2 separate regions of the Homo sapiens genome follow, and region 2 is linked to region 1. The links are contacts of gene promoters, found by promoter capture Hi-C in human tissues and cell types (Jung and others, 2019). All regions are on one chromosome and are shown on one strand. Each heading gives the region's core, a stretch centred on a gene start or on the middle of the fragment in contact. The rest is flanking DNA. Distances are from core to core; before and after follow the strand shown. Region 1 holds the start of GALK1 (galactokinase 1). Region 2 overlaps SRP68 (signal recognition particle 68).

Region 1 (5,148 bases), core at 1,823-4,322:
ATAGATACATCACTTGTTTTTTTTTCCCGAGACCAAGTCTCACTATGTCACCTAGGCTGGAGTGCAGTGACGAGATCTCGGTTCACTGCAAACTCCACCCCCCGGGTTCAAGTGATTCTTGTGTCTCAGCCTCCCGAGTAAGCTGGCATTACACATGTGCGCCACCATGCCTGGCTAATTTTTGTGTTTTCAGTAGAGATGGGGTTTCACCATGTTGGCCAGGCTGGTCTGGTCTTGAACTCCTGCTCTCAAGTGATCCGCCTACCTCGGTCTCCCAAAGTCTGGGATCACAGGCATGAACCACCACATCTGACATTTGAGCATCTTTTCATGTGCTTATTGGCCATTTGTATTTATATTATTTGGAAAAATGTCTCTTGAAATCTTTTGCTTTTTTTTTTTCTTCTTTGACACAGGGTCTCTCACCTTCTGAGTAGCTGGGACCACAGGTGTGTGCCACCCAACCTGGCTAATTTTTTTTTTTTTTTTTGTAGCAGTGAGGTCTTCCCACGTTGCCCAAGTTGGTCTCAAACTCCAAGCCCCTGAGATATACATGATTTGCAAGTACTTTCTTCCATTCTGTGAGTTGTCTTTTCACTTTCTTGACAATGTTCTTGTCAGGCCTCTGAGCCCAAGCTAAGCCATCATAGCCCCCGTGACCTGCACGTATACATCCAGATGGCCTGAAGCAACTGAATATCCACAAAAGAAGTGAAAATAGCCTTAACTGATGACATTCCACCACTGTGATTTGTTCCTGCCCCAACCTAACTGATCAATGTACTTTGTAATCTCCCCCACCCTTAAGAAGGTTCTTTGTAATTCTCCCCACCCTTGAGAATGTACTTTGTGAGATCCATCCCTGCCCGCAAAACATTGCTCCTAACTCCACCACCTATCCCAAAACCTATAAGAACTAATGATAATCCCACCACCCTTTGCTTACTCTTTTCAGACTCAGCCCGCCTGCACCCAGGTGAAATAAACAGCCTTGTTGCTCACACAAAGCCTGTTTGGTGGTCTGTTCACACGGACACGCGTGACAGTTCTTTGTTGCAGAAAAATATTTCACTTTGATGAAGTACAGTTTATTTTTCTGTTGTCACTTGTGCTTTTGATGTCATATCTAAAAAACCATTGCCTGGCCGCATTGGCTCACACCTGTATCCCAGCACTTTGGGAGGCTGAGGCAGGCAAATCACTTGAGGTCAGGAGTTCAAGAGCAGCCTGGCCAACATGGTGAAACCCTGCTTTTACAAAAATTATCCAGGCATGGTGGAGGGTGCCTGTAATCCCAGTTACTGGGGAGGCTGAGGCAGGAGAATCGCTTGAACCTGGGAGGCGGAGGTTGCAGTGAGCCAAGATCGCGCCACTGCACTCCAGCCTGGGTAACAGAGCAAGATCTGTCTAAAATAAATAAATACGTAAATAAATAAAAATAAAAAAACATGACTAGGTGTGGTGGCTAACGCCTGTAATCCCAGCACTTTGGGAGGCCAAGGTGGGTGGATCACCTGAGGTCAGGAGTTTGAGACCAGCCTGGCTAACCTGGTGAAACCCCAGTCTCCACTAAAAATACAAAAAATTAGCCGGGCATGGTGGCACGTGCCTGTAATCCCAGCTACTCCGGAGGCTGAGGCAGGAGAATCGCTTGAACCCGGGAGGCAGAGGTTGCAGTAAGCTGAGATCACGCCATTGCACTCCAGCTTGGACAACGAGAGCGAAACTCCGTCTCAAAAACAGAAACCAAATAAACATTTCCTAACCAATGTCACAAAACTGTACCCCTATGTTTTCTTCTAAGAGTTTTCAGAATTGCCCTTGGAATGCAGTTCCCCACTCTTTGGGCACACCCCTGAGCAGGCCCCAAGCTAAATCCCTGGCCATAACTCCCCACACTACTCCCACCCTAACCCCAAGCAAGCTGCTTACATTTCAGTCTTTCAGTTTCAAGGTTCCATGTAGGGTGGGCAGCTGTGGACAGGTATCAAGGCAGCAGTTGGGGCCGGCCAGCAGGTTTAGGATGCAGGATAGCAAGAGAAGAGTGCCTGACTGGGAACAAGGCCACGCCTCTGAGACAAGGGCTTCTGGGCTGAAGTAGTGCCTGCTGGGGCCAACAGCACAACCTACCTGGACAGCTGTGGCAGGTCCTTAAGGGAGGGGCTGGGCCCACTGCTGGCCACCGCCACCCTAGTCCAATTCTCCATTGCTAGGAGCTGTTGCGTATTACCTAGAAAAGGAGCTTGTAAAATTGACTCTCTGGTCACCACCAAACTTGTCTTTTTTTTTTTTGAGACAGAGTTTTGCTCTTGTTGCCCAGGCTGGAGTGCAATGGTGTGATCTCAGCTCACCGAAACCTCCGCCTCCCAGGTTCAAGTGATTCTCCTGCCTCAGCCTCCCGAGTAGCTGGGATTACAGGCATGAGCCACCATGCCCAGCTAATTTTGTATTTTTTAGTAGAGATGGGGTTTCTCCATGTTGGTCAGGCTGGTCTCCAACTCCCGACCTCAGGTGATCTGCACACCTCGGCCTCCCAAAGTGCTGGGATTACAGGCGTGAGCCACTGCGCCCGGCCCAAACTTGTCTGTCTTTATCTCTACTTACAGTGAGTGTCAGGTCACCCTCTTGGAGACCGGTGATCAGAGGCTGATGACCTCTCACAGCTGCTGGCCCTGGGGACCTAGGGGATCCCTTTGGGAATCCCAGGTCAACCGGGTGCCAGCTCCATTGCTCTGGCTGTGTGGGTGGTGGTGGGTGGTGAGGCACATAGAAAGTCACCAGCGCCAGGGAAGGGCAGCTCAGAAATCCTGGTCATGCCAAGTGCCACTCAGGGCTATTCTCACTCTAGTGAGTGCTCATTGGTTCTTCCCGAAGTCCAGAGGGAAGGACACCATCGGGGGCGCTGTATCCCACCCGGCACCATTAGCCCCTGCCACCCACCACCCAGCAGCTGGATTCCCACGGGAGTTGCGGGTGGGGGCGGAACCGGCTGAGGTCTGGGGGCGGGGCGTCCGGGCGCGGGGCGGGGCTGGCGGGAATGTGCGCACCCCCGCGCGGGGCCCCGCCCGAGCATCCCGCGCCGACGGGGCTGTGCCGGAGCAGCTGTGCAGAGCTGCAGGCGCGCGTCATGGCTGCTTTGAGACAGCCCCAGGTCGCGGAGCTGCTGGCCGAGGCCCGGCGAGCCTTCCGGGAGGAGTTCGGGGCCGAGCCCGAGCTGGCCGTGTCAGCGCCGGGCCGCGTCAACCTCATCGGGGAACACACGGACTACAACCAGGGCCTGGTGCTGCCTATGGTGAGGGGCTGCACGGGGAGCCCCTAGCCCGCCGCCGCCTGTCCCGGCCGCCGAGGAGGGCGGGCCTCGGGGACGCTGGGGGCGAGTTCTTCCCGCGGGAGATGTGGGGCGGGCAGCTGCGCCTGGAGCACCGGTGCACGGAAGAGTCCCCGGGACAGGCTGTTCCCCACGTTGGAAGGGAGGAAGCGAGGAAGTGGCCGGGAGAGGGTGCGCGGCCGCCTCTTGGCTCAAGCCCGCCCTCTGGGGGCTGGGGCTCCTCGCCTTCAACCTGGGAGCATGTTCCCCTTAAACTGTGAGGCCCTGTGTGCCACGCAGAAGGGGACACTCCGCGCCTCCGGCCACCGTGGGGCCCCAACCGCAGACCTGGGCGAACGTAGCCTTCTGGCCCAGCCCGTTCAATTTACAGAGGAGGAAACTGAGGCCTAGAGAGGCCCAGTGAACTGCTGGAGGTCACACAGCAGGTTCTTGGCGGGGCTGCGACTTGGGAGTGAGGACTCCCAGCTTTCAGCGGGGGGCGCTTTCCGCCCCATCTGCAGCTTGGGGAGTGCACAGGTACAGGATGTCCAGAGCCACCCCAAAATGTAAAGGCTTTGGAGCTCCAGTGATCTGTTTTCCCTTTGGGCTAGCTCTCCCCCTTGCCCCACAGCTCAGGGCAGAGTCCAGGTCTGTGCTCCAGCTGCAGCCGCCCCGCCCCTGAAGACCTAAGGGGGCAGGGCTCAAGCCCCCAAGGTCAGCTGGCCCTCAGGATCTTCCCTGCGACGCTGAACCTGGAGGTTCAGAACCTGATGACTGTGGAGGCATCAGAACCTCGGCTGGAGGCAGTGTCATTGGAGAGGCTTACTCCAGCTGGCGGAAGCCTCACGTACTGCTTGTCTCTCCTGCCAGGCTCTGGAGCTCATGACGGTGCTGGTGGGCAGCCCCCGCAAGGATGGGCTGGTGTCTCTCCTCACCACCTCTGAGGGTGCCGATGAGCCCCAGCGGCTGCAGTTTCCACTGCCCACAGCCCAGCGCTCGCTGGAGCCTGGGACTCCTCGGTGGGCCAACTATGTCAAGGGAGTGATTCAGTACTACCCAGGTATGGGGCCCAGGCCTGAGCCAAGTCCTCACTGATACTAGGAGTGCCACCTCACAGCCACAGAGCCCATTCATTTGTCTGATACACTGTGGGGAAGGCTTGTAGAGTGGAGCATCCCATTGTACAGATGAGGAAACTGATGCCCCCAGAAGGTCGGGAACTTGCCCTGGGTTTCCCGTGACCTGATTGGAGGAGCCAGGATTTGAACCCCAGCCTTTTTTCCCTCCAGAGCCCTAAACCAGGAGGACAATTAGAAGTGTCCCAGCAACCTCAGAGGGTGGGAAAATGGAGGGCAGTGGGTCCCTTGGCCCAGCAGGTTGGTGGCTTCTGACAATTGAGACACACACCCTAGAAACAGCTGCTAGGCCGTTGCTGCCCTTCCCGCCAGGACACCTGCCCTTCCTGTGCCATCCTCCCAGGCAGCCCCTCTTACCATCACCTGTTCTTTCCCCTGCAGCTGCCCCCCTCCCTGGCTTCAGTGCAGTGGTGGTCAGCTCAGTGCCCCTGGGGGGTGGCCTGTCCAGCTCAGCATCCTTGGAAGTGGCCACGTACACCTTCCTCCAGCAGCTCTGTCCAGGTACCAGCTAGGCCCCAGCCCTGACCCAGCCCTCCTTCCCTGAGGTCTCCAGGTGGTCCCAGCTTCTACTATGCCTTATGGAGGGGGTGGCAGGGACTCTCCCTGGAGTGTCATTGAAGCCACTGCTGCTTCCACCAGCCCTAGCCTCCCCACCTCACCCTGTACTGCAGACTCGGGCACAATAGCTGCCCGCGCCCAGGTGTG
Region 2 (4,971 bases), core at 937-3,436, 280 kb before region 1:
GGCCTGAGGAGGATTTAGGTATGAAGAAGGGAAGGCATTTTTCTGATTTAAAAGAAACAAAAACCACCACAGGAAAACCTGAAGTACTGCTCTCAGACTTGACTGCACGTTGAAATCTCTTAGGAAGATTTTTTTCAAGGTAGATGTCTGGGTCGCACCCCCAGAGATTGTGGTTCTAATCAGTGTGAGGGATCTGAAGTGGGCATTGGGACTTAGAAAGGCCCCTTAGTGATTCTGACATGCAACCAAGTGAGAAGCACTGGTGAAGCTGTCCTGCAGGGCATGCGCAAGACCAGCAGCAGCGGCGGGGCCTCACTAGGAATGCAGCCTCTCAGCTCCCACCCGGAACCTTCTGCTTGTTTTCTTTCTTTCTGTCTTTCTTGAGACAGGGTCTCGCTCTGTCACCCAGGCTGGAATGCAAGTAGCACCATCATAGTTCACTGCAGCCTCGAACTCCTGGGCTCAAGTGACCCTCCCACCTCAGCCTCCTGAGTAGCTGGGACTACAGGCATGAGCCACCATACCAGGCCAATTTTTATTTTTTTGTAGAGATGGGGGTCTCACTATGTTGCCCAGGCTGGCCTTGAACTCATGGCCTCGAACTCCTGGCCTCAAGCAGTCCTCCTGCCTCTGCCTCCCAAAACCTTGAGATTGGAGGCATGAGCCACCATGCTGGCCAATATCTGCATTTTAACAAGATCCCCAGGCCATTTGGGGGTCTGTTAAAGCTAAGGAAATGCTTGATCTAAAGTACAGCCACAGGGCTGGATGCAGTGGCTCATGCCTGTAATCCCAGCAGTTTGGGAAGCTGAGGTGGGCAGATCACTTGAGGTAAGGAGTTCGAGACCAGCCTGGGCAACATGGCGAAACTCTGTCTCTACAAAAATAGAAAAAAATAGCCAGGTGTGGTGGTGCACACCTGTAATCCCAGCTACTTGAGAAGCTGAGGCAGGAGAATCACTTGAATCTGGGAGGCAGAGGTTGCAGTGAGCCAAGATCAAGCCACTGCACTCCAGCCTGAGTGACAGAGCAAGACTCCATCTCAAAATAAATAAATAAAGTGCAGCCATGGAAGGCTTTCTTTGCTTTACTTTTTTTTTTTTTTTTTTTTAAGATGGAGTCTCTGTCTCCTAGGCTAGAGTGCAGTGGCACGATCTCGGCTTGTGCCACCAAGCCCAGCTAATTTTTGTATTTTTAGTAGAGGGTTTCACCATGTTGGCCAGGCTGGTTTCAAACTCCTGACTTCAAGTGATCAAGCCTCTTGATCCGCTGACCTCAGCCTCCCAAAGTGCTAGGATTACAGGCGTGAGCCACTACTCCCGGTGCTTTACTGATTATTGAACGATAACTAGCTTCTTAAGCTTGTGGCGTGCTGTGATGGTATAGAACTTGTTGCAACATCAGCTGGTCTAAGGAATCCATGTATATTTGACAAGTAGAGACCATTTAGAAAAGCAAGCAGGGGCCGGGCACCGTGGCTCACGCCTGTAATCCCAGCACTGTGGGAGGCCGAGGCGGGCAGATCACGAGGTCAGGAGATCGAGACCATCCTGGCCAACATAGTGAAACCCCACCTCTACTAAAAATACAAAAAAATTAGCCGGGCATGGTGGCAGGCGCCTGTGGTCCCAGCTACTCGGGAGGCTGAGGCAGGAGAATGGCGTGAACGCGGGAGGCGGAGCTTGCAGTGAGCCAAGATCACGCCCCTGGGCGGCAACAGAGTGAGACTCCGTCTCAAAAAAAGAAAAAAAAAAGCAAGCAAAGGTTCCTGTCGTTGATGGAGTCACGCCAGCCAGTGTAGGAGCTGCTGGATCCCGTGCAAGCTCAGAGGGGTAGAGAAGAAGCTCTCTGCCTTCAGAGAGCTTGTAGTTTTGTTGTAGCCACAGACTGGCATGCAGGAGCCCACCTATGGATGCAGAAGAAATAAAAGAGACCCCAAGCAAAGGCAGAGCTAGAAAACAGCACAGGGATGTGGGCAGGTGGGAGTGACAGGCATGGCAGCGTCACCACCATGGAATATCATCTTGGGACGCGGGGCAAACCAGTGTGGACCTGATTTCATGTGCTGAATTGTTTTGTGGGGGAAGTGTCAGAATGGAGGCATGAAGGATTCTGTGGCATCCAGACCTTCTCAGGTCATTCCCAATATGCCAAGCAAGAGACCGAGGCCAGGAAAATTCATCACCCTCGTTGAAGCAGTGGGATGTAACGACTAAGGGCTTATGCCCTTGAGCCAGATGGCCCAGCCCTTTACCCCAGCCCGCTGCCACTTGGGCGCATGGCTGGCACATTGCTTAACCTCTCCATGCTTCCATTTTCTCATCTGTAAAATGGGAGTGCAAACTGCCTCAGGATTATTGAGAAGGTTAAGCTAGTGATTATGTAACCTGCTTAGAACAATGCCTGGCACACTGTTTAGTGTATGATAAATTTATTAATATTAACATCATCTTTATTTCCAGGCATTATTACTTAAGCCGTGGCATAGCTTTTCCCATTTGAAACAGGCTAGTGTTTTGCTTTGTTTTGTTTTGTTCTAATAGTGAGAACCGTTTAGAAAGTCTAAAGTCCTGTGAAAATACCAGTGGGGTCGGTTAACTCGGGTTAGCTTGGTGTGCTTCTCTGACCTGGCCCTGGCTCGGGAGTACACGTTTTCTGAATCTTACAGGACCTGCCTGATGTGCAAGAGCTCATCACTCAAGTGCGGTCAGAGAAGTGCTCCCTGCAGGCCGCAGCCATCCTTGGTGAGCCCCCTGCCTGGCCTTTGTATCCCCAGACTTCCCTTCCTGCCACTCCCCTTCTCTGTCACACCCCATACTACTGTTTTAAGGTTGAAAGGGTTGTCTTGGTTCATCTGTAAGATGTTCCTGGCCTTTACTTGTGCCAGCTGGGCATCAGATTGTGTAGAAGCATTTCGAGTGCACTGTTACACTGGCCCTTCTCCCTGTTACTGTCCTCATGCAACTGTGCTGGCTTCACTGGGCCGACGGCATTGGATCTGGGATTGATCTGTTTATCTCCACCACTTCTCAGCAGGAGACAGGCCTGGCTTCCCCACATGCTGGCTCCTTTTGCTTTTGGGATGTAGGGGCCACCTGTGTGATAGGCCTCATTTGTGATTAGTGTGCTATTATAAATCCTTGTTCTTACTGAATCCCTGTGAAACTTTCAGATGCAAACGACGCTCATCAAACAGAGACCTCCTCCTCCCAAGTCAAGGACAATAAGGTAAGTCTGGGCCATGGTTTTTGAGGAATACGAAGCAGGATTAGTAACAAACTAGGAATGCATGCTCATTATAGAGCAGTGGACCCTAAATTTCTAAGGAAACCCCCCACCTCCCTCCCTTCTCTTACCCAACCTCAAAGCTTCTTGCATAAAGCTTCCTAGATGTCAGATCATCCCTGGGAAGAGGGTTGAGGAACCTGTTGCTGTAAAGAGTAGCACCCGTGGGTAAGAGCTCTAACTCGTAACATGGCCAACAGGCCTGCACCCCAGTCCTAGCCTGCCACTCTCTTAGCCTCTCTGGGTTTCAGTGACTTTGACTACAAGGCAGGGATGTGGTAGCCCCTCCTCGTAGGAGGCTGTCGGGATTGAGTGATTGAGTGAGATGGCCCCTGTAAAGCTCTGAACCAGGCAGTCGGCACTCAGGAATGTTCACCAAGGGTGTTCTGTGACCGATGCTACATACGTCTCTTTGATTTGACTTCCAGCCTCTGGTTGAACGGTTTGAGACATTCTGCCTGGACCCTTCCCTTGTCACCAAGCAAGCCAACCTTGTGCACTTCCCACCAGGCTTCCAGCCCATTCCCTGCAAGCCTTTGTTCTTTGACCTGGCCCTCAACCATGTGGCTTTCCCACCCCTTGAGGACAAGTTGGAACAGAAGACCAAGAGTGGCCTCACTGGATACATCAAGGGCATCTTTGGATTCAGGAGCTAACCAGGCTCTTCCTCGGGGGCGGGGGAGATTCTGACTCTTAATCTGTATTGTGAGAAAATCCCAGCAAGTTCCATGATATTAAATCCAGGTCTGCATTGGCCCGGGGCAAGAGTTTAACATCTTCGGCCCTGCATTCCTACATCTTGTGTCTGTACACGTTCTTAAGCAGCGTGTCAGGAGAGCACCCTGTTGTCTTCTGGTAAATGTGTGCAGGGTCATCCTGTCTCCTGTACCTCCTGGGAAAGGGGCCGCTGCTGTCTGGTGCCCTGTGAGCTGTGATTGATTGCCTTTGGTCAGTAATGCGTTCAGGAGTCCACACCAGGCACAGATGGGGCCTTGAAACGCTTTGTCATGCTTCTTCAGTACCATGGATTTGAAATGAACTCATCCTTGCTGTGAGCATCCAGGAGCCCTTGAGAAGTTTATCTATGACTATGAAACTGGCAACGTCACCCCAGAATTACGGTCAGCCTTATTCCCCTTCACCTCCCAGTGAACGCTAAGAAGTTTCAGACAAGCAGAGAGCTCTATTTTTAGAAGAAATATGTTACACTCAGAAATGATGAAACCAAATCTTATATTAAAAGGCAAAGATGACGGAGACTGTGCCCATTTCTTATATGCCCTCCCTCATGTCCAGTCCCCGTTCTCTCCTCGGGAGCCTAGTTGCGTGAAGCCGGTGAGGTCAAGTGTAACCTGACTTACCGGCAACTAGGTGAGGCTGATGCCAGATACACATGTTAGAGGCACTATTTTTCAGGACTTCCCAATGTGTAATTTTTAGATGCCATTATATTTTAATCCCCTTCGTTACCCCCCGTTTTTCCTTAGTCATCCCTTTTCACTTCTATTATAACATCAATAATAGAAGTCACAAAAACAATGTAAGAAAGCAAGGAATAAAAGTGATTTAAACATGTACCTGACACTTAACGATTCCCTTTGGAAATCAAAACTCATCTGTCACATAGGAAAGAAAATTCGTCACAAGAAATGTTGGCTTAGATGTTTTCCGTTTTTGAGCAAACCC

What was found. Contacts are between HindIII fragments. The study calls those that stand out against the background at their distance.
Region 2: a contact is called between a fragment that was not itself captured here and the fragment with the promoter of GALK1 in region 1, in 1 of the 25 tissues and cell types used here (spleen).

What each region holds. Positions count from the first base shown.
Region 1 is chr17:75,763,116-75,768,263 of GRCh38, reverse strand. GALK1 (galactokinase 1) reads left to right here and starts at 3,072. Exons shown (of 8, transcript NM_000154.2): 1 at 3,072-3,292; 2 at 4,178-4,367; 3 at 4,825-4,944; 4 at 5,115-5,148. The coding sequence starts at 3,128. RefSeq lists silencers at 2,908-3,097, 3,328-3,477 and enhancers at 3,588-3,817, 3,848-4,057. The HindIII fragment of the contact is 26,637 bases long and covers 1-5,148 here.
Region 2 is chr17:76,038,676-76,043,646 of GRCh38, reverse strand. SRP68 (signal recognition particle 68) reads left to right here. Exons shown (of 16, transcript NM_014230.4): 14 at 2,669-2,744; 15 at 3,173-3,228; 16 at 3,714-4,862. The coding sequence ends at 3,941. Among named protein-coding and RNA genes, the nearest start is that of EVPL, 14 kb to the right of the region's middle. RefSeq lists enhancers at 2,086-2,787, 2,788-3,489. The HindIII fragment of the contact is 4,661 bases long and covers 1-4,516 here.